Regions from separate parts of the Homo sapiens genome. Here regions 2, 3, 4, 5, 6 and 7 are each linked to region 1. The links are contacts of gene promoters, found by promoter capture Hi-C in blood cells and fetal thymus (Javierre and others, 2016). All regions are on one chromosome and are shown on one strand. Each heading gives the region's core, a stretch centred on a gene start or on the middle of the fragment in contact. The rest is flanking DNA. Distances are from core to core; before and after follow the strand shown. Region 1 holds the start of MANSC1 (MANSC domain containing 1). Region 2 has its middle 10 kb from the start of MIR613. Region 3 has its middle 8.0 kb from the start of APOLD1. Region 4 has its middle 25 kb from the start of DDX47. Region 5 has its middle 21 kb from the start of MIR613. Region 6 overlaps CDKN1B (cyclin dependent kinase inhibitor 1B). Region 7 overlaps ETV6 (ETS variant transcription factor 6).

What was found. Contacts are between HindIII fragments. The CHiCAGO score rates a contact against its expected background, and 5 or more counts as called.
Region 2: a fragment that was not itself captured here is called in contact with the fragment with the promoter of MANSC1 in region 1 in 5 of 17 cell types (naive B cells, activated CD4 T cells, non-activated CD4 T cells and 2 more); the score reaches 6.1 in naive B cells.
Region 3: a contact is called between a fragment that was not itself captured here and the fragment with the promoter of MANSC1 in region 1, in 1 of 17 cell types (activated CD4 T cells). The highest score is 6.6, in activated CD4 T cells.
Region 4: a contact is called between a fragment that was not itself captured here and the fragment with the promoter of MANSC1 in region 1, in 1 of 17 cell types (activated CD4 T cells). The highest score is 5.3, in activated CD4 T cells.
Region 5: a contact is called between a fragment that was not itself captured here and the fragment with the promoter of MANSC1 in region 1, in 16 of 17 cell types (total CD4 T cells, naive CD8 T cells, total B cells and 13 more). The highest score is 15.1, in total CD4 T cells.
Region 6: a contact is called between a fragment that was not itself captured here and the fragment with the promoter of MANSC1 in region 1, in 15 of 17 cell types (neutrophils, erythroblasts, activated CD4 T cells and 12 more). The highest score is 12.8, in neutrophils.
Region 7: a contact is called between a fragment that was not itself captured here and the fragment with the promoter of MANSC1 in region 1, in 1 of 17 cell types (M1 macrophages). The highest score is 5.4, in M1 macrophages.

What each region holds. Positions count from the first base shown.
Region 1 is chr12:12,348,950-12,351,952 of GRCh38, forward strand. It overlaps MANSC1 (MANSC domain containing 1), which reads right to left and starts at 1,293. Exons shown (of 4, transcript NM_018050.4): 1 at 1,129-1,293. RefSeq lists a silencer at 1,294-1,603. The HindIII fragment of the contact is 5,175 bases long and covers 399-3,003 here.
Region 2 is chr12:12,773,458-12,776,179 of GRCh38, forward strand. It overlaps a transcript of APOLD1 not described here. Among named protein-coding and RNA genes, the nearest start is that of MIR613, 10 kb to the left of the region's middle. The HindIII fragment of the contact is 3,048 bases long and covers 1-2,722 here.
Region 3 is chr12:12,792,348-12,795,047 of GRCh38, forward strand. No RefSeq gene overlaps it. Among named protein-coding and RNA genes, the nearest start is that of APOLD1, 8.0 kb to the left of the region's middle. The HindIII fragment of the contact is 8,759 bases long and covers 1-2,700 here.
Region 4 is chr12:12,836,638-12,839,672 of GRCh38, forward strand. No RefSeq gene overlaps it. Among named protein-coding and RNA genes, the nearest start is that of DDX47, 25 kb to the left of the region's middle. The HindIII fragment of the contact is 827 bases long and covers 1,134-1,960 here.
Region 5 is chr12:12,742,513-12,745,268 of GRCh38, forward strand. It overlaps a transcript of APOLD1 not described here. Among named protein-coding and RNA genes, the nearest start is that of MIR613, 21 kb to the right of the region's middle. The HindIII fragment of the contact is 1,917 bases long and covers 549-2,465 here.
Region 6 is chr12:12,719,042-12,721,767 of GRCh38, forward strand. It overlaps CDKN1B (cyclin dependent kinase inhibitor 1B), which reads left to right. Exons shown (of 3, transcript NM_004064.5): 3 at 1,995-2,726. Among named protein-coding and RNA genes, the nearest start is that of CDKN1B, 3.0 kb to the left of the region's middle. RefSeq lists enhancers at 381-460, 531-580. The HindIII fragment of the contact is 2,899 bases long and covers 2-2,726 here.
Region 7 is chr12:11,879,397-11,882,141 of GRCh38, forward strand. All of the region lies in intron 5 of ETV6 (ETS variant transcription factor 6), which reads left to right. Among named protein-coding and RNA genes, the nearest start is that of BCL2L14, 190 kb to the right of the region's middle. The HindIII fragment of the contact is 2,928 bases long and covers 1-2,745 here.

The DNA.
Region 1 (3,003 bases), core at 43-2,542:
TGTGCTTCTTTATTAACCTATTAAGTAACAAGTGGTCATCTAATAACTGCCATAATTTTGACGTGGTATTGAGTATAGATAATATTTTGAAACGTGCAACAAGTCATGTGATATAAAGATATCGGCAATATTTACAGGGGGCAAATCATAGCTACTGCTAATACTACTGTGGCTTTTGCCTACATTCCATTTCAGAAGTCGGTGAAATAATAATTTTTTCCACTCAAGTTCACAGACATCCTGAATTCTATCCATGGATACCTTATCGTGGACTCCCCAGGTTAATAATTCTGGCCAAGGTACTTAATACGCTGCCATATTTTGCAAGCCTCTAGGGAATCAAGAGAAAACCAGGCCAATACTTTATTTTGAATGGATTCTAATGTAGCCTCTTTTCAAGCTTTTGCAAAGAAACCTGAACTATGTAAGGAGATGGGGCAGGAGTTGTTTTCAGTATGCAGCATTGAGAGAAGTGTTTAAGAGTTTTATATCATTAAAGAGGCTCAGCAATATTAGGTTAGCGACGTTTTCTAATCCATTATTATTTAGGCTTTAAGGGCCTGAAGTCGAGTTGAATCTTGTTGAAAGACGGGGTAAAAGGATACAGGCGGGTGAGAGAGGATGCCCCTGAGTTTTAACGTCTGCATACAAGAGTCGCTAAAACTTACTCGCACGTAATTAGTTCAAATATTGGAAATCGTCTTACAGCACACTATAATTTACCAAGATGCTTATAACTGTATACACACACACACTCTACAGAGAATTAGACAATTAGCAGTTTCAATAATGAATACAGAGTCAACGACAAGAAAACAGGGAACATTTTCTCTTCCTTTGAGGAAATGCATGTTGCCTACTGAGCTATTCTTCTGCCTCTCCTTCTGATGTCAACGCAGAGCCAGAGCCATTTATGGCAGGTGCCTTGAGCCCGCCTAGAGGTCCCCTTTGGAATACTGCAGCGACTCAAGGATCCTGGTCAGCCCTTATTGGCCCCAGCTGGTCCTTTGGATGCTCGGGTGTGGGTGAAGGAGCCTCGGCCCCTGGAAAGGAGGGGACCGACTCTCTCCGCAGGTAGCGACGTCGCCTGCGGCCGGTCGGGGGTGGGTATTGGGGAGACCCCTTTACCTGGCGTCGAGAGGACCCCGGCGCCCCTGCTGCCATCCAGGTGCGAGGACAGCTCTGTCGCGCCCGCGGGAAGGACCGGCGAATCCGCGCGGGGGTCTCGGCGAGGACCGCAGCGGATGCTCCGCAGCTCCCGCACCGGCCTGGCGGGTTTTGTGGTTAGCAAGTTCCTGCTTCCGTCGCAGCGACGGCAAGTTTGCCGCGGGGGAAGGGCACGTTCCTGCCCTGCAACCCGGAGCTGCTTCCCGGCAACATTAGCGCGTCCCTCCCCGCGGAGGCTCCGGGCTCCCGGCCCCAGCGCTGAGCCCCGCAGGGAGGTGGCTCCCCCCACCGCCCCGCGCTCCCCCCCAGCTCAGCCACACCGCTGACCCCGGGCTGGGCGCGCTGCGAGGGGGAGTGCGTGCCTCCCTGCTGGTGGCCCGAGGGTCTGCAGGTGAGCCTTGCCTCGCGGCCCGCGCAAGTTAAAATAAATGCACATGGGGAAAATGTCAAACAGTACAAAAATAGACACAGAGACAAGTCTACCCCTCACCCCCGTGCCCCAGTCTCCTAGTCTCCCTCCTCAGAGGCAACCACTGAGAGCAGTTTTTTGATGTTCAAGGGCTTATAGTGCATCCTATTGGGGGCATAGTTCTGAGAATCCTCTTTCCATAATTGGAGGATGGAGTCCTCAATTAAAGATGGCAATTCTTGAGTTAAATATTATCTGCAAGACAAACTTCAGGGAAGGTATTTGGCTTTCTGCGGGATTTATTGTTTGTAGATAGGATAATAATGGTGAAAATGCTGGTGTCTGTAACATATATTAAAACTGTATCCCTAACACTTAGCATAGTGCCTGGTACACAATAGGTGCTCAGTAAATATTTAACTAAAATATTTTTGTTGACTGAATGAATGGAAAAGAACTGCATAGGGCATAGGTTGTGGAAGTTTCTAAATTACTGCTGGCCCCATCCCCACCTCCATAAACACACACACAAATGCAACGTTACTAAACCATTGACACTTAGTTTGCCATATGGTCTAACCTTTGACAGTATCTTCACCTCTGTTTTGAAAGAGCTTGCAGACCTGAAGCGCTATGCAATTGCAAGTTAAGTCTAGGCCTGTACGGCCAACAGCTACACACCCTAGTCTTAACCAATAACTACAGGAGGATTAGGTTGACTGAGAATGCTTGTGAACAAAGGTCCATTGTGTGAAACTAACTCTACTTGTAACCAAAGGATGACTCTTGAATTACAATGTTGCTAAAGCTAGGTTTGAAAGAGTTACCAAAGAAAAGTAAACACCAGAGTAATTTCCCATTGCAGTGATTTTCCTGATGCAACAAGGGACTGATCTGCAAGTGTGTTTTATCTTTTATCATCTGATACACTTCAGGGTTCAGGGTGTAGAGCTATCACAGTTTTTGAATCTCTCTACATGGGGTAATCCATGCTAGTTACAAAGTAGACCTTTCCATTATTAGAAACTTCGTATTCGGTGCTTTAATACAATGAACCTGTTTCTTTTTTTGTTTTGTTTTGTGTTTTGTTTGTTTTTAGAGACGGAGTCTCGCTGTGTTGCCCAGGCTGGAGTGCAGTGGTGTGATCTCGGCTCACTGCAACCTCCACCTCCCGGGTTATAGCAATTCTTTTGCCTCAGACTCCTGAGTAGCTGGGACTACAGGCACATGCCGCCACGCCCAGCTAATTTTTTTCTATTTTAGTAGAGATGGGGTTTCACCGTGTTGCCCAGGCTGGTCTCGAACTCCTGAGCTCAGGCAATCCGCCCGCCTCGGCGTCCCAAAGTGCTAGGATTACAGGCGTGAGCCACTGTGCCCGGCCTGAACCTGTTTTCATTGAAGTGATATGTTATTTTTTCAGTTATGAC
Region 2 (2,722 bases), core at 36-2,535, 420 kb after region 1:
AGGCTGAAGTGGGAGAATCACTTGAACCCAAGAGTTTGAGGTTACAGTGAGCTATGATTGCATCACTGTACTCCAGCCTAGGTGACAGACCGTGTCTGTTAAATAAATAAATGAAAAGTAGGAGAAAAGATTATAAAAATCAGAGGAGAAATCAATGAAATTAAAAATAGGAAATCAAAATCTGGTTCTTTGAAATGATTAATAAAATCAATGAACCTCTTCCCGACTTAATACTTCCTATAAAGCTACAATAATCAAGACAGTGTGGTATTGGTGAAAGACTAGAAAAACAGACCGATAGAATAGAATGGAGAGCCCCAAAGTGAACCCACATAAATATAGACAATTGACCTTTGACAAAGGAGCAAAAGCAAGACAATGGCGCAAAGATAGTCTTTCAACAAATGGTGCTGGAAACCTGACATCCACATGCAGAAAAAAATGAGTCTAGACACAGATCTTACACTCTTCACAAAAATCAACCTAAAATGGGTCACAGACCTAAGAGTAAAACATAAAACTATAAAATTCCTAGAAGATAACAGGAAAAAAATCTAGATGACCCTGGACTTGGTGATTACTTTTCAGATACAACATCAAAGGCACAATCCATGAAAGAAAGAATTGGTAAACTGGACTTTATTAAAATTAAAAAATGTTACTCTGCAAAAGACACTGTGAATTGAATGAAAAGGCAAGCCACAGACTGGAAGAAAATATTTGCAAAAGACATATTTGATAAAGGACTGTTATCCAAAATATACAAAGAACTCTTAAAACTCAACAATAAGAAGAAAAAGAACCTGGACGGGTGTGGTGGCTCATACCTGTAATCCTAGCACTTTGGGAGGCCGAAGAGGGTGAATCACTTTGGGTCAGGAGTTTGAGACCAGCCTGGCCAACATGGTGAAACCCCGTCTCTACCAAAAACTACAAAAATTATCTGGGTATGGTGGTGTGTGCTTGTAATCCCAGCTACTCGGGAGGCTGAGGCAGGAGAATGGCTTGAACCCAGAAGGCAGAGGTTGCAGTGAGCTAAGATCACACTGCTGCACTCTGGCCTGGGTGACACAGCGAGACTCTAACTCCAAAAAAAAAAAAAAAAAAAAAAAAAAAAGAAAGAAAAGAAAAGTAAAGAAAAGAAAAGAAAGAAAACAAGGAACCTGAACAAAAAATGGGCCAATGACCTTAACAGGCACCTCACCAAAGAAGATATTGGTGGTAAATAAATATATGAAAAGACGTCCCAAATCATATGTCATCAGGGAATGCAAATCACAACAGCAATGAGGTACCATTACATATTGATTAGAATGGCCAAAATCTAGAACTGACGATACTAAATTCCCTGATGAGGATGTGGAGCAGCAGAAACTCTCCTTCATTTCTGGTGGGAATTTGAAATGGTATGATGAGTTTGGAAGACAGTTTGGCAGTTTCTTACAAAACTAAACATACTCTCGTCATAAGATCCAGCAGTCATGTGCCTTGGTATTTACCCAAAGGAATTGAAAACTTATGTCCACACAAAAAGCTACACACAGATGCTTACCACAGCTTTATTTGTGATTGCCAAACATCAGAAGCAACCAAGATGTTCTTCAGTAGCTGAGTGAATAAATGGTGGCATATCCAGACAATGGGACATTATTCAGTGCCAAAGAGAGATGAGCTATCAAGTCACGAAAAGATGTGGAGGAAATTTAAGTGCATGTCTGTAAATGAAAGAAGCCAATCTGAAAAGGCTACATGCTGTGATTCCAACTAATGACATTCTGGAAAAGATAAAACTATGAAGACAGTGATCAAAGATCAGTGGTTGCCAGGGGTTAGGAGGGAGGGAGGGATGAACAGGCGAGGTGCAGAGGATTTCCAGGGCAGGTAAACTACTCTGTATGAGACAGTAATGGTGGATACATGTCATTAAACATTTTTCAAACCCACAGAGCGTACAATACCAATAAGGAACCCTAATGTAAACTGCAGACTTTGGGCCAATGTAGGTTCATGAATTGTAACATAGGTACTGCTCTGTGGGCACTGGCAATAATGGGAGAAGTTATGCATGTGTGAGGGCAGGGAGCACGGGGTGTCTCTGTATGTTCCACTCAATTTTGTTGCAAATCTAAAACTGCTCTAAAAAATAGTCTAACAAAGCAAGTTTGGAGAGGAAAATAGATTACATAAAATCATTTTCTTACCTAATTCAAGAGCAAATAGAGTTGAAAACTCACCATAGAAACTACATTTTTTAAAAAACGATTGGGTACAATGGCTTATGCCTGTAATCCCAGCACTTTTGGAGACCAAGGCGAGAGGATTGCTTGAGACCAGGAGTTCATGACCAGCTTAGGCAACATAGTGAGACTTCATTACTACAAAATTTTCTTTCTTTAATTAGCTGGGTGTGGGGGTGTGCACCTGCAGTCCCAGCTACCCAGGAGGCTGAGGTGAGAGGATTGCTTGAGCCTAGGAGTTCAAAGTTACAGTGAGCTATGATCATGCCACTGCACTCCAGCTTGGGTGACAGGGTGAGACCCAGTCTCAAAAAAAAAAAAAAAAAAAAAAACACAACAAACAAACAAAACTAAATTAATAAAAGCAAATAAGGAGAATAATAATGACCAACTTTCAGGGTGTTAGAAGATACACCCCTTGCTTCATCATATTGCTTAATGTGAACCGACTGAATTCTACTAAAAATAGACTTTAAACAAAGTTA
Region 3 (2,700 bases), core at 185-2,684, 440 kb after region 1:
AGATCTGAAAACAATCTCTTAGCAACCAGAGAGCTGTTAGGAGAGGGGAAATCGTGCTGATGAAGCGAGACCCATCGTCCAGGAATGCACATTAGGGGTCCTCAGCACCCCCAAACCTGACTAGCATTAGCACCGGGTTGTGGAGAGAAGGCCCTCTAATGTGGTCTTTGCCTGCACGCATAGAGATTATCTATATGAAGCTACATCTGCAGAAAATGATGTTTAATCCAATTTTGTATTTACACTAAAACCCCAGAGGTGGGAGGACAGGCAGGCCTGTGACCTGATTCCCCCTGAGCTTTAGCCATGGGTCACGGCCAAGGCATCTGCCTCCCTTACACACAGGAGCAGCCAGATCCTGGCCTCCTCCAGCATTTGTGTGAATACGGTTGCCAAATTCACCAAAATAATTATAACTGGGAGAAGCTACACAAAAAGGGTAGGGGTGATGTCTAAAGTCTTTCTTTTAGGCGAAACTTCTTTTTCTACGCTCCCCGGTTGATAAGCAGACATTTCTTTCTGCCCTCACTTTTTATTAAAACTGCACTCTCAAAATATCATTTAAAAACAATATTTTTTTCAGTGCTTAAATAAAATGACATTTCAATAATATTGAACATACATGTGGGATATTTAACAATAACAATAGCTAACATTTATTGAGAACTCACTAGATACTCTTCTAAGTACGATTTGACCTGTATCATTTCATTTACCTTACAAAAATCTTATGGTGTGCACACTATAATTACCCTATATTATTAGATAAAGTAAGGAATTTGAGAGGTTGCATTGCCAGCATGAGGTGCCCCAGAATTTGAATTCTGGCAGCCTGACTCCAGAGTTATGCTCTTAGCTATTCTTTTCCTTTTTTTTTTTTGGAGTCTTGCTCTGTCACCCAGGCTGGAGTCCAGTGGCATGATCTCAGCTCACTGCAACCTCCGCTTCCTGGGTTCAAGCGATTCTCCTGCTTCAGCCTCCTGAGTAGCTGGGATTACAGGCGCCCACCACCATGCCCAGCTAATTTTTGTGTGTGTGTGTATTTTTAGTAGAGATGGGGTTTCACCATGTTGGCCAGGCTAGTCTTGAACTCCTGACCTCAAGTGATCCACACACCTTGGCCTCCCAAAGTGCTGGGATTACAGGCATGAGCCGCTGTGCCCATCCAATGCTCTTGGCTTTTCTGATTTTTTTTTTTTAGACGGAGTTTTGCTCTTTTCGCCCAGGCTGGAGTACAGTGGCATGACCTCAGCTCACTGCAACCTGTGCCTCTCGGGTTCAGGCGATTCTCCCACCTCAGCATCCTGAGTAGCTGGGATTACAGGCGCCCACCACCATGCCTGGCTAATTTTTGTATTTTTGGTAGAGACAGGGTTTTGCCATGTTGGCCAGGGTGGTTTTGAACTCCTGGCCTCAGGTGATCTGCCCATCTCAGCCTCCCAAAGTTCTGGGATTACAGGTGTGAGCCACTGCGCCTAGCCAATCCTAGCACCTTGGGAGGCCGAGGCAGGTGGGTTGCTTGAGTCCAGGAGTTAGAGACCAGCCTGAGCAACATGGTGAGACCTCATCTGTACAAATAATTTTTAAATGAGCTGAGTGTGGTGTTGCACACCTATAGTCCCAGCTTCTCAGGAGGTTGAGGTGGGAGGATCACTTAAGCCCAGGAGGTCGAGGTTGCAGTGAACCGTGATTGGGCCACTGCACTCCAGCCAGCCTGGGGAACAGAGCAAGAACCTGTCTCAAAAAAAATAAAAACATCTCCTGGCAGTAACAGTCTCATCTAGGATGAGTAATCTTATGCCAGTAGGCTAGTCAATAAGAAAAAAATAAAATATAGCTTTGCAAGTCACTAGTATTTATAATAAACAGTGTGGGTGTGATTTGAAAGTTATAAAACTTTTGCTCTGATCATAAAAACCTATGTATGGGTTTTTATGGTGGCTGGGCACAGTGGCTCACACCTGTAATCCCAGCACTTTGGGAGGCTGAGGTGGGAGGATCAACTGAGGTCAGGAGTTCAAGACTAGCCTGGCCAACATGGTGAAACCCCGTCTCTACTAAAAATACAAAAATTAGCTGGGCATGGTGGCAGGCACCTGTAATCTCAGCTACTCGGGAGACTGAGGCAGGAGAATCGCTTGAACTCAGAAGACAGAGGTTGCAGTGAGCTGAGATCACGCCACTGCACTCCAGCCTAGGCGACAGAGCAAAACTCTGTCTCAAACAAAACAAAACAAAGCCTATTTACAGAATAATATTTTGTGATGCTCCCCCAAATCTCCCAAACATGGCAAAATTCTGGTGAACAAAACACCTGAAGAGGAAGGACATGATTTATAAGAACTTTTTGCTAACTGTAGATGCGCTGGAACTGAAGTTATCAGTAGAGATGACACAGACATGAATGAAGGAATTACTGGTCGAACAGGCCTATCTAGATCTGATTTTAAAACCTCAAAAAATGAAACTTCTTGGGGTCATTCCATTGAAACTACTACTGACCCTGCTTGTCAAATTTCTTCCTGTTGGGGTGTGTACTCAATTGCAGTCTAGTAGCTTATGGACTAAAAGTGTTGGAGGTATGTGGGTGAGTAGATAGGTATGAATAGGAATAAGATGTTGGGTATCATAAACTATTCAAAATCATAATGCTTTGTGGTTGATTTGAATTTAACATTGTCCCCTGAGGTTTTGCATAGC
Region 4 (3,035 bases), core at 297-2,796, 490 kb after region 1:
TATTTCTAGTTCTTTGAACAATCCCGAACAGTCGATATTATTGTTCCCAATATGAGCTATGGAGCCAGTTTGCCAAATCGGCCCCTGACTAACTGTGAGACTTTGGACAAGTTGTTAAACCTTCCTGTGTTTCAACCTTCTTATCTGAAGACACACAGTTATAGTACAGCATTGTGAAGTTAAATGAACTATACTGTGGCTCATGATAACAATCAGTAAGTGTTAGTCATTATAATGATCATTAATTGTGGCTTTTAGCATAGATGAAGACTGGCAGCGTACCCAGATCATACAGCTGGTAAAGGGCTAAGTAAAAATTTGAAGCCAAATTGGATTCCAAGCCTCTGCCCTTTACACTAAATACACTGTTTGTTATGTGTGTGTGTGTGTGTATGTATATATGTGTAATTCCATATTACTCATGCAGTATGTTCCACACAACAAGTAAGTACTATGCAAATGAACTTTCAGGTTCCAAGCTATTTTCAAATTGGCAACAGGCAGGTAAGAAAATAAGACATTCTTGTTTTCACCAGTAGATGGCAGAAGGAAGAAAAGACCACTCCGGAGAGGGAAGGAGTTTTAATTTGGAGCCGAGTGATTCACAGTGGGCTGTGGCTGAGGCACAGGGGCAGATGAGGCAGACTCCTTGTATGACTACAGTGGAGGACAGTCCCACTGGAACTAGGGGTCAGGGGTCAGGGTGGGGAGGAGAACTACCTACAGGTATGTGAAGGGTGTCAGCCTTCAAGAAGATCTGCTAGGTTGACCCAGAGGATGGGGACTGGGAGCCCCGAAGTAAAGGCAAGTTCAGATGCACTTAGAAAAAAAGGTCGCGTTCCTCTGTCGTCTCTACTGCGCGGTCCCTGGCTGTGGACCCTCCTCGTCAACTTCCAAACACTTGGTTCTTTTCCAAAGCCTGCCTTTCCCTCTGGGATGTTGATGAAGCCACTTGCTTTGTTTGCTCCTTTCCCCACCCCCTACCCCAGTCTGTAAGTCAGGAATACTCTTTCCCCCGCCTATCCCAATACACGTTGTTTGTGAGCCACCGACCCCCCTCACTGCTTCCCTCTCTCCTCACTGCGTATCCATCCAGTAGGCTTGGTCCACAGCCCGTGCTCCTGTATCAAATAAGCTTGGTGCTGGGTAACCTGTGAGCTGCTTGTTCGTTCATTTTATCCTAGAGACATGTCCTTCAGCCCAAAGTGATGGGGAGTTGTCCTTCTGGGTCCAAAAGAGTAGTAGCAGCAATCAAGCATGGTGGTCATTTATACTGGGCCAGCTCTCACTGATGTGATGCTGGCTCTTGTCCTCACACATTCTTTTGGGGGAGGAGTCCACTGGTAACTCCTGATATCTTAGAAACTCTCTTACCCAAGCTATTAAATCCAGTGCCAACTTAAAACCAACATCCCTGTCGCGATTTCTGGGTGGGTCAAGAGTGGGGACTATCCAAAGATTTCTTATTTGACATACGTCTATTTGTACATTTGTAATGGTTGTTGGTTTGGTTTTAAATAAGTGATTCTTGGACAGGGCATGGTGGCTCATGCCTATAATCCCAGCACTTTGGGAGGCCAAGGTGGGAGGATTGCTTGAGGCCAGGAGTTTGAGACCAGCCTGGGTAACACAGCAGAACCCCATCTCTACAAAAATAATAAAAAATTAGCTGGGCATGGCGGACCCCGCCTATGGTCCTAGCTACTTGGGAGGCTGAGACAAGACAATCATTTGAGTCTTGGAGGATGAGATTGCAGTAAGCTATGATTGTGCTGCTGCGTTCTAGCCTGGGTGACAGGGTAAGACCCTGTCTCTAAAAGGTAAATAGTAAATAAGTGATTCTTTACAATAGGGCTGAGGAGAGCCTCCTGTGTGTTAGGAGTTTGCCAGGTGACTGGCATATATTATTTCTTTTACTGGAGGTCATGAGTCATTTCTCGAGGAAACTGCAGATCAGAAAAGCTTGTTTGTCATATTTTAAAACTGCAGCCTAGTCTTTTTTTTTTTTTTTTTTTTTGAGACAGAGTTTTGCTCTTGTTGCCCAGGCTGGAGTGCAATGACGTGATCTTGGCTCACCGCAACCTCTGCCTCCCAGGATCAAGGGATTCTCCTGCCTTAGCCTCCCAAGTAGCTGGGATTACAGGCATGCACCACCATGCCCGGCTAATTTTGTATTTTTAGTAGACACGGGTTTTCTCCATGTTGGTCAGGCTGGTCTCAAACTCCCGACCTCAGGCGATCCGCCTGCCTTGGCCTCCCAAAGTGCTGGGATTACAGGCGTGAGCCACCACACCCGGCGCAGCGTAGTTATTCTTTATTCTGTCTTCCGTGATTTCTTAAATTCATCCAAGGGTATTCAGGAATTTTGCAGGGTGAGCCTATGCTGACAAAATGAAATTGAGCACCATAGTTTTGTGTTTTTTACTAAATCTCCAGAAAATAAAAGTGACCTTTGGACTGCCAGAAGATTCACGTGAAACCTCACATAAAATCAGCATGTGAAGACAGAGAGGATGTTGGTGATCACCAGAATCTGTTCATTTTTCCTTTGAAGATACTTAAAGGAAGTATGTGTATGTTTACAGGTTTGTATATGTTTTAGAGTGTGCCCACAAGCTCTTAGCCATTTAAGACAGACACTAAAGACTCCCTCAATTAAAAAAAAAGTTCAGTGGAATTTTGTTCATAATATCTGCCTGAGAAAAAACAGGCCCTGCTTTTCAGTCTTGAAGACTGAAGGCTCCTTTTTGAGTAGAGTAGTGGGGGCTGGGTGCAGTGGCTCATGCCTATAATCCCAGCACTTTGGGAGGCCGAGGTGGGCAGATCATTTGAGGTCAGGAATTCGAGACCTGCATGGCCAACATGGTGAAACCCCGTCTCTACTAACAATACAAAAATTAGCTGGGTGTGGTGGCTCGTGCCTGCTAATCCCACTACTCGGGAGACTGAGGCAGAAGAATCACTTGAACCCAGGAGGTGGAGGTTGCAGTGAACCGAGATCATGCCGCTGCACTCCAGGCTGGGCAACAGAGTGA
Region 5 (2,756 bases), core at 257-2,756, 390 kb after region 1:
TCCCAGCACTTTGGGAGGCCGAGGTGGGTGGATCACAAGGTCAGGAGTTCAAGACCAGCCTGGCCAAGATGGTGAAACCCTATCTCTACTAAAAATTCAAAAATTAGCTGGGTGTGGTGGCAGGTGCCTGTGATCCCAGCTACTCAGGAGGCTGAGGCAGAGAATTGCTTGAACCTGGGAGGCGGAGGTTCCAGTGAGCTGAGATCGCGCCACTGCACTCCAGCCTGGGCGACAGAGCAAGACTCCATCTAAAAAAAAAAAAAAAGGCCCTGGTCAGGGTCTCACTCTGTCACCCAGGCTGGAGTGCAGTGGCATGATCTCGGCTTACTGCAGCCTTGACATCCAGGGCTCAAATGATCCTCTCACGTCAGCCTTCTGAGTAGCTGGAACTACAGGCATGTGACACCACCCTGGCTAATTTTTTGTAGAGATAAGGTTTTGGCATGCTGCCCTGGTCTCAAACTCTTGGGCTCAAGTGATCCTCCCGCCTTGGCCTCCCAAAGTGTTGGGATTACAGGCGTGAGCCACCGCGCCCCGCCATGGTCAAAAGCTTTATCTTCGTTAATCTTGGTTGAGCTGGTTTCCCACTTCCTATATCATTTGCCTGAAAGGGGAGACCCAGCTTACTTTGGAGGTAGGTGTAGGTAGATAAGAGCCAAGTGTTGTTTGCTAATGTATTGAGTGAGGGATCTCATTAAAAGGTCATTTTATTTGTGCAATCAAAGAACTCCTTTGGAGCCCAGTATGGTGTCACACACTTGTATTCCTAGCTACTAACGAGGCTGAGATGGAGAATCTCTTGAGCCCAGTCAATCACTGATGCCAGCGTGGGCAACATAGTGAGACCCCATCTTTAAAAAAAAAAACAGGTGTGATTAATGTTAAGCACCTTGAGATGAGGAGAGCGGTTTGGATTATCCAGGTGAGCCCAATCTAACAAAATAAATCCTTAAAAGCAAAAGCAGAGGGCCTTTCCATCTGTGGTCAGAGGAATAGGTGACTATGGAAGAGTGGTTGCTCCCTTTCCCTTGTCCCTGCTTTGTTTTCTCCACAGCACTTCTCACTCTGTGGGAGGCACAAGAATGCCCCCCTCCAAAGAGATACACATCCTAATCCCCAGAGCCTATTAATATGGTATGTTATATGGCAAAGGGGGGATTAAGGTTGCAAATGGAATTGTTTGCTGATTTGCTGACTATAAAATTGGGAGAGTATCTTGGATTATCCAGGTGGACCCAATGTAATCACAAGGGTCCTGAATCTTGGAAGAGGAAAGCAGAAGAGGGATTCAGAGTGGTGTGACGTGAGGGCTTAGCTTGCTGTTGCTGGCTTCGAGGATGGAGGAAAGGGGCTAGGAGCCCAGGAATGCAGCAGCCTCCAGAAGCTGGAAGAGGCAAGGTAAAGGATTCTCCCCCAGAGCCTCCAGAAACAAATGCAGCCTTGCTGGCACCTTGCTTTTAGCCCAGTGAGACCCATGTTAGACTTCTAGCACACAGTACTGCAAGATATTAAATTGATGATGGCTGGGCGTGGTGGCTCATGCCTGTAATCCCAACACTTTGGGAGGCTGAGGCTGGTGGATCACTTGAGGTCAGGAGTTTGAGACCAGCCTGGGGAACATAGCAAGACTGCGTTTCTACTAATAAAAAATTAGCAAGGAACGGTGTGCACCTGTAGTCCCAGCTACTCGGGAGGCTGAGGCAGGAGGATCACTTGAGCCTAGGAGATCAAGGCTGCAGTGAGCTATGATGGCACCACTGTACTCCAGCCTGGGCAATAGAGCCAGACCCTGCTTAAAAAAAAAAAAAAAAAATGGCTGGCTGTGGTGGCTCAGGTCTGTAATCCCAGCACTGTGGGCGGCTGAGGTGGGCAGATCACCTGAGGTCAGGAGTTCGAGACCAGCCTGGCTAACATGGTGAAACCCCATCTCTACTAAAATTACAAAAATTAACTGGGCCTGGTGGTGCACACCTGTAATCCCAGCTACTCAGGAGGCTGAGGCAGGAGAATCGCTTGAACCTGGGAGGCGGAGGTTGCAGTGAACAGAGATCGCACCACTGCACTCCATATCAAAAAACAAAGAACTGCTTGGTTTCTGATTTCTCAGCTCTCAACTCTAGGCAGGTGATTTATTTGTCCACTTAAGAGATGGGAATTGGACACTGCCGCTGGGATCAGTTCTGATCCTGACTATAAATTTCCGGGGTGCTCTGCCTTAGAACTTGGTTTATTGCCTATTAAGCTGCTTTCCTGTTGCCTGTGCTCAGTGTCTGTCTGGCTCCTGGCCTCCTCTTGCCAGGTGATTTGGCCTCATTCTGAACCTGTTTTATGTAGAGTGTCTGTCTGCCCGACTTCATGGGGCAGATCACAGAACAAGATCCCTGTGCCACGATCTGCTTTCCCTTCACCAAATATCACTATGAACTTGTGCCTACCTGGATCCCATACTTGCTTCACCCTGACAAAGCTTTTTCTTCTCTCTACTTCTGGCCTGCTTTGAATTTATTGTTTTATGCCTGTGTGTTAGAGGGAAAAATGTATTAAAATAATGTACTGGCAATACCTCCCTTCCTGTCTAAAAAAAGTGAATGCTTTGTGTACTCATCTCCCTAGAGGGCCTTTGTTGAATTAAGCAGGGTGATTGGCTGTGAGGAGAATTAAAAGGCAGAGAGAAGACCAAATTGCTCTACCCAACACAAAATGAGGAGATATTTGAAAGAGAATTTTACAAGGAGAAGACTGAAGAAGGCCGGGCG
Region 6 (2,726 bases), core at 201-2,700, 370 kb after region 1:
AAGCTTATGGGGTTTTGTTTTGTTTATACTTCGTGAGGTCAAAAAAGTAGCAATGGGGAAGGCTGGGGATACGGTAATTCCTCAGAGTTTCTATGCCCAGAGATACTTTCTCTTCAAACTGTTGACCAGAGCAGCTACTTGTAACCCAGGCCCCATCGGGTAGGAAGGTCGTTTCCCTGTGAGTCCCACTAAAACGTGTTGGGAGCAATAGGTTCTTTGCCCATCCGAACAAGAACTAGGGTACTCCCTCAGTCCGAATTAATGAGAATTAATTTCCTAGAGGTTCAGCTTGAGTCGGTAACAGATTTTGAGCCATACATGGAAAAATGGCAAATACATGATTAAGTTTCAATTTTGAGGGGGAATGTTTGGTAGAAATTGCTCATCTTTGGTTATGCAAGGGATTAGAGATGTGAATAGGATGGTATGTTGTGTTCTTTGACATTTTAATAAACTGTCACTTTCCCTGTTGTCTCCTAAGTTTGGAGAGAGAAGGAACCAGTATTTGCAAAAACCAAATGGAAAGATAAAAAAGTTACTAAAGTTTCTACAGAATTTCTGGTAACACTGAAGTTGCAAAGCAGAAGTTAAATTAACTCTTGTCAGTAAGCAATCCAGGAACACGTCAGCCAGTGTATGCTAATTGTGCCGTAACAGGGTGATTTGGATATTTGTAGGGGAAATGGGTAGTAAATATCAAGACTGGTGACCGTAGGTCAGCCCAGCACAAAGGAAGTGGAGATTTTTCCATGCACAAGAATCTGATCACTGTAAATAGCTAATTTGAATAATTCAGTCCCCAGATAACCAACATGGGTTGGTTATTCATAATAAACTACATATTTTAATAGTTTATTAGCTTCCTTTAGACCAAGACTGTGACCTCTTTATTTTCTAAAGCACACACGTAGTTTAGCATATGAGGCGATAAAATATTGATGTTAACTTTTTAAATCCCCAGTTATAAAAATTTTAAAATAACAGGGATTAAGGTGAGATTCAGGTTTGTTGTGTCTTTAAATTGTATATGTGACTTCACATATCTTTTTCAGCGCTTATACAAAACGGCACTATAGAACCTCCATTTTACAGCACCATATGAAGTGGGAAAATTAGGTGAAAATTTTCCTGAAGCAACCTTAACATGCGCAGCCCTTGTTGGTTTGTGACTTGTGGCCTAGCTCATCAGATGAGCCACGAGAATCAGACCTGGATTTTGATCTGGCCCTGTTCTGACATGCAATGAGGCATTTGTAGGATTTAGTAATATTGCTAGTTCAAAGAATACTAGAAATATTAGTAAGAACCTATTCAAAAGTATTCATGAGTATTTTCTGCATATGAATCAGGAATTAGAATATTTTGAAAATGATGTTAATAAAATTTTCCTCTGGAAGGCCTTTATAATTTTTATTCCCAATCATTTTTCAAATTTAGAAAGTTTAATCTGTCACAGGAGAAAAAAAATTAAAAATTTTCAAAAATTTAGAAAATTTTTACCCGTAAGTATTACAGTTTCCTAATTATCCTATTTATTTCCCACTTGCCTTTGACCTAGATTATTTAGAGTAGGGTTTCTCAGCCTCTGCACTAATGACATTTTGGGCCGAATAATTCTGTTGTAGGAGGCTGTCCTGTGTGTTTTAGATTGTTTGGAATTATCCCTGGCCTCTCACACTAGATGCCAGCAGTATCCTCCTCCCCCAGTGTGACAACCTAAAATGTCTCCAGACATTGCCAAATGTTCCCTGTGGGGCGGGGGCAACATTGCCTACTGTTAAGAACTACTGCTCTAGACCAAAGAACACAGCACAGAGGAAAGGAAAAAAAAATCCAGTTAAGAGAATGTTAGGTGGAGATGACTATAGTCATCAAACTTTTTTCCCCATCAAGTATTTCCAAGCTAACATAGTGACAAAATAATTCCTGTACTCTACTGGTAACGTTAATCTAGTGCTCTTCCTTTAATTCTTCCGTTTTGTTTTCTTTTGCAGAATTAAGAATATGTTTCCTTGTTTATCAGATACATCACTGCTTGATGAAGCAAGGAAGATATACATGAAAATTTTAAAAATACATATCGCTGACTTCATGGAATGGACATCCTGTATAAGCACTGAAAAACAACAACACAATAACACTAAAATTTTAGGCACTCTTAAATGATCTGCCTCTAAAAGCGTTGGATGTAGCATTATGCAATTAGGTTTTTCCTTATTTGCTTCATTGTACTACCTGTGTATATAGTTTTTACCTTTTATGTAGCACATAAACTTTGGGGAAGGGAGGGCAGGGTGGGGCTGAGGAACTGACGTGGAGCGGGGTATGAAGAGCTTGCTTTGATTTACAGCAAGTAGATAAATATTTGACTTGCATGAAGAGAAGCAATTTTGGGGAAGGGTTTGAATTGTTTTCTTTAAAGATGTAATGTCCCTTTCAGAGACAGCTGATACTTCATTTAAAAAAATCACAAAAATTTGAACACTGGCTAAAGATAATTGCTATTTATTTTTACAAGAAGTTTATTCTCATTTGGGAGATCTGGTGATCTCCCAAGCTATCTAAAGTTTGTTAGATAGCTGCATGTGGCTTTTTTAAAAAAGCAACAGAAACCTATCCTCACTGCCCTCCCCAGTCTCTCTTAAAGTTGGAATTTACCAGTTAATTACTCAGCAGAATGGTGATCACTCCAGGTAGTTTGGGGCAAAAATCCGAGGTGCTTGGGA
Region 7 (2,745 bases), core at 111-2,610, 470 kb before region 1:
GGTTTTTTTCTTTAGAAACCATGTTGGTTATGTGTGAATTGCCCATCTTTTTACAATCTCTGCTCAATAAGTTTATACAATGAGTCTCTGGTAAGAGACAGACGTGGGAGTGAAAATATTTCTCCTTAACCACAGGAAGGGATTTTTTACAATGCCTTTAGCTGCGGATACCGAGGGTACCTCACCCAGCAGGAAGGAGAGGGAACTATACTTGGGCTAAACACTTTCATAAACTACTTCTCATGGAAAAGAAAATCCAAATAGTGGAAATTTCTTTAAAATATCCATGTGCCTTGAGATAGAAGAAAGCCCTTTCGTTTAAGAAAAATGCACTTAAAATTAATGAATACCTTGTGATCCAAAAACATTTTATACATATACGTTCAGGTGTTTTGAAGTGGAGTGAACTTCTATTTATAGAGTGTGTTGCGCTTTATTATATAGTATTATGCATTTACATTGATGATCAAAGAACATTGTATCTGTGCAGGCATGGGTTCCGAAAAGGCTGAAAAATTCCAGGTGAGCCGTGGCAACAACCTCTAAAGGATCTAGGAACCTAAAGAGGATCTGCCTTTTATTTAATAGAAATCTTAGAAACAAAAATAACTGACATGGCTTGAATGTCAATTGTTTAAAAAAAAAAAAAAAAAAAGGAAAAAAAATCTATTGTGTGGTCAGGCAGTTATTTTTATCATCTAGGCATAATTTTTACCAAAGAAACAAAACAATCAATAATGTTATAAAAGCCACTTATACTCTGAGCTTGAAACAACTGCTTTATGCCACAAAATTCCTATTGCTGTCTCCGTTAGTGACTAATTCAATATGTCCTGAATGTCAACGTATTTTTATTACTCAGCTAAAGTTGGCTTTGCTGGATTAAATGTCATTTAAAATGATCAATTGGCAGCTTGTTTGGGGTTGTTTTCACATTTATGAAAGGAAAAGTTTGCCGGATACAAATGTTCTTGAAGCTGATAGGGAAACGGTGTTCTCTGGTAAGCCCTGCCCTTCCTTTTGCCATCTGATAAGTAGATAACATTCTAGGTCCTAGTTTGATGCCTCCGAAAAACCAACATGGCAGCCCAGTGCAGGTTAAGCCCTTACATTGGAGAAATGGTCTGGTTCACGTTTCACTGTTTTATGAGAAGTAGAATGTACCATTACAGTAAAAGAGAAGCAACAGAAACATGCAGTGAAAACGCCCATGCTTGTGGTTAGAGAACTGTCCGCTTTCTTTTTGCTCTACAGTAGGCTTCTGAGTGGAGTGCCTTCCGCCTAGAGTCAAGAGGGCTGCCATGATGTCACCCACCTTCATATGGGCAAAATGTCTTTATATGAAACTGTAAAAGACAACCAGGTCGTTTCTTAATTGCTGAAATTTATTAAAATGAACACACTAGAAAATCACATTCCCAATCCAGAGGAATCCAATGGCGTCGTCAGCCTATTTGCAATGGAAATGATTGTAAACCTATAGGGAGACATAGGAGGGGCTGCACACAAACTACTTTCGTTCGTCCTGATTTACTGGCTTCTTTTCCCCCTAGAGATACAGTCTCACTCTGTCACTCTATCGCCCAGGCTGAGTGCAGTGGGTTGATCATGGCTCACTGCAGCCCCAAACCCCTGGGCTCAAGCAATTCTCCCACCTCAGCCTCCCAACTAGCTGGGATTACAGGCATGCACCACCACGCCTGGATAATTTTTAAATTTTTTGTAGAGATGAGGTCTCGTTATGTTGCCTGGGCTGGTCTTGAACTCCCGGACTTTCAAGCAAGTCTACTGCCCCTGCCTCCCAAAACAAACATTGGGATTATAATTATAAGCCACCACACCCAACCCTAATTTACAGGCACTGTATGTGATAATATGTGATTTTGTCAGATGTTTTCCAGTTGGAAGAGATTATGGAAAATTAAAATGTGTCTGCCATTTGATAGTAGGACAAATACTGAAATATTAAGCCACAGCTGAGTTCTGGCCTTAGTCCTTTTGGGGCTGCTCTGACAAACTGCCGTAGACTGGGTAGTTGGTACGCAATAGATACGGATTGCTCCACAGTTCTGGGGGCTGGGGAGATCAAGGCCCTGGCAGATGAGGCATCTGGTGAGGGCCCACTTTCTGGTTCATAGACAGCACCTTCTTGCTGTGTCTTCACTTGGTGGAAGGGTGAGGGGTCTCTCTCAGGCCTCTTTTAAAAGGGCACTAATCCCACTCACAGGGGTGGGGCCCCCAAGACCTAATCACCTCCCAAAGGTACCTTGGTAGTTAGTTAGGATTTCAACAGATGAATTTGGGGAGGACATGAAGATTCAGACCACAGCAGATCTCTATTTTCCCTTTATAGAGAAAGTAATTCAAGACAAGGAGATGCTTACAAGGGAAAAAGACACTTTGCCACTTTTTACTGCTTTGCTTAGAAACTAGAATCATCCTCCTTCAAATGCCTGTAAAACGAGCTAGATTATTCTCAGTCTGCAGTAGGACACTGATTTCTCAAGGTACTTAAGATGCTTGGGTTGCTCATCTTCTCCACACCCCCACCTCAGCCCATCCCCTGGCAATACAGAATGCAGCCATGGCAAGACGGGGTGGGCAATAGAAGTGGCTGGACAGCTTCTGTTGTTAGAATGGGGTTCAAAGTCCAGGACTATGGTGTTGTTGTTTTAAGAAGGAGGCCACTTGTCCTTTTCCAAAACACAATGAGTGACACACCACATTAATGTTTAAACACAGATA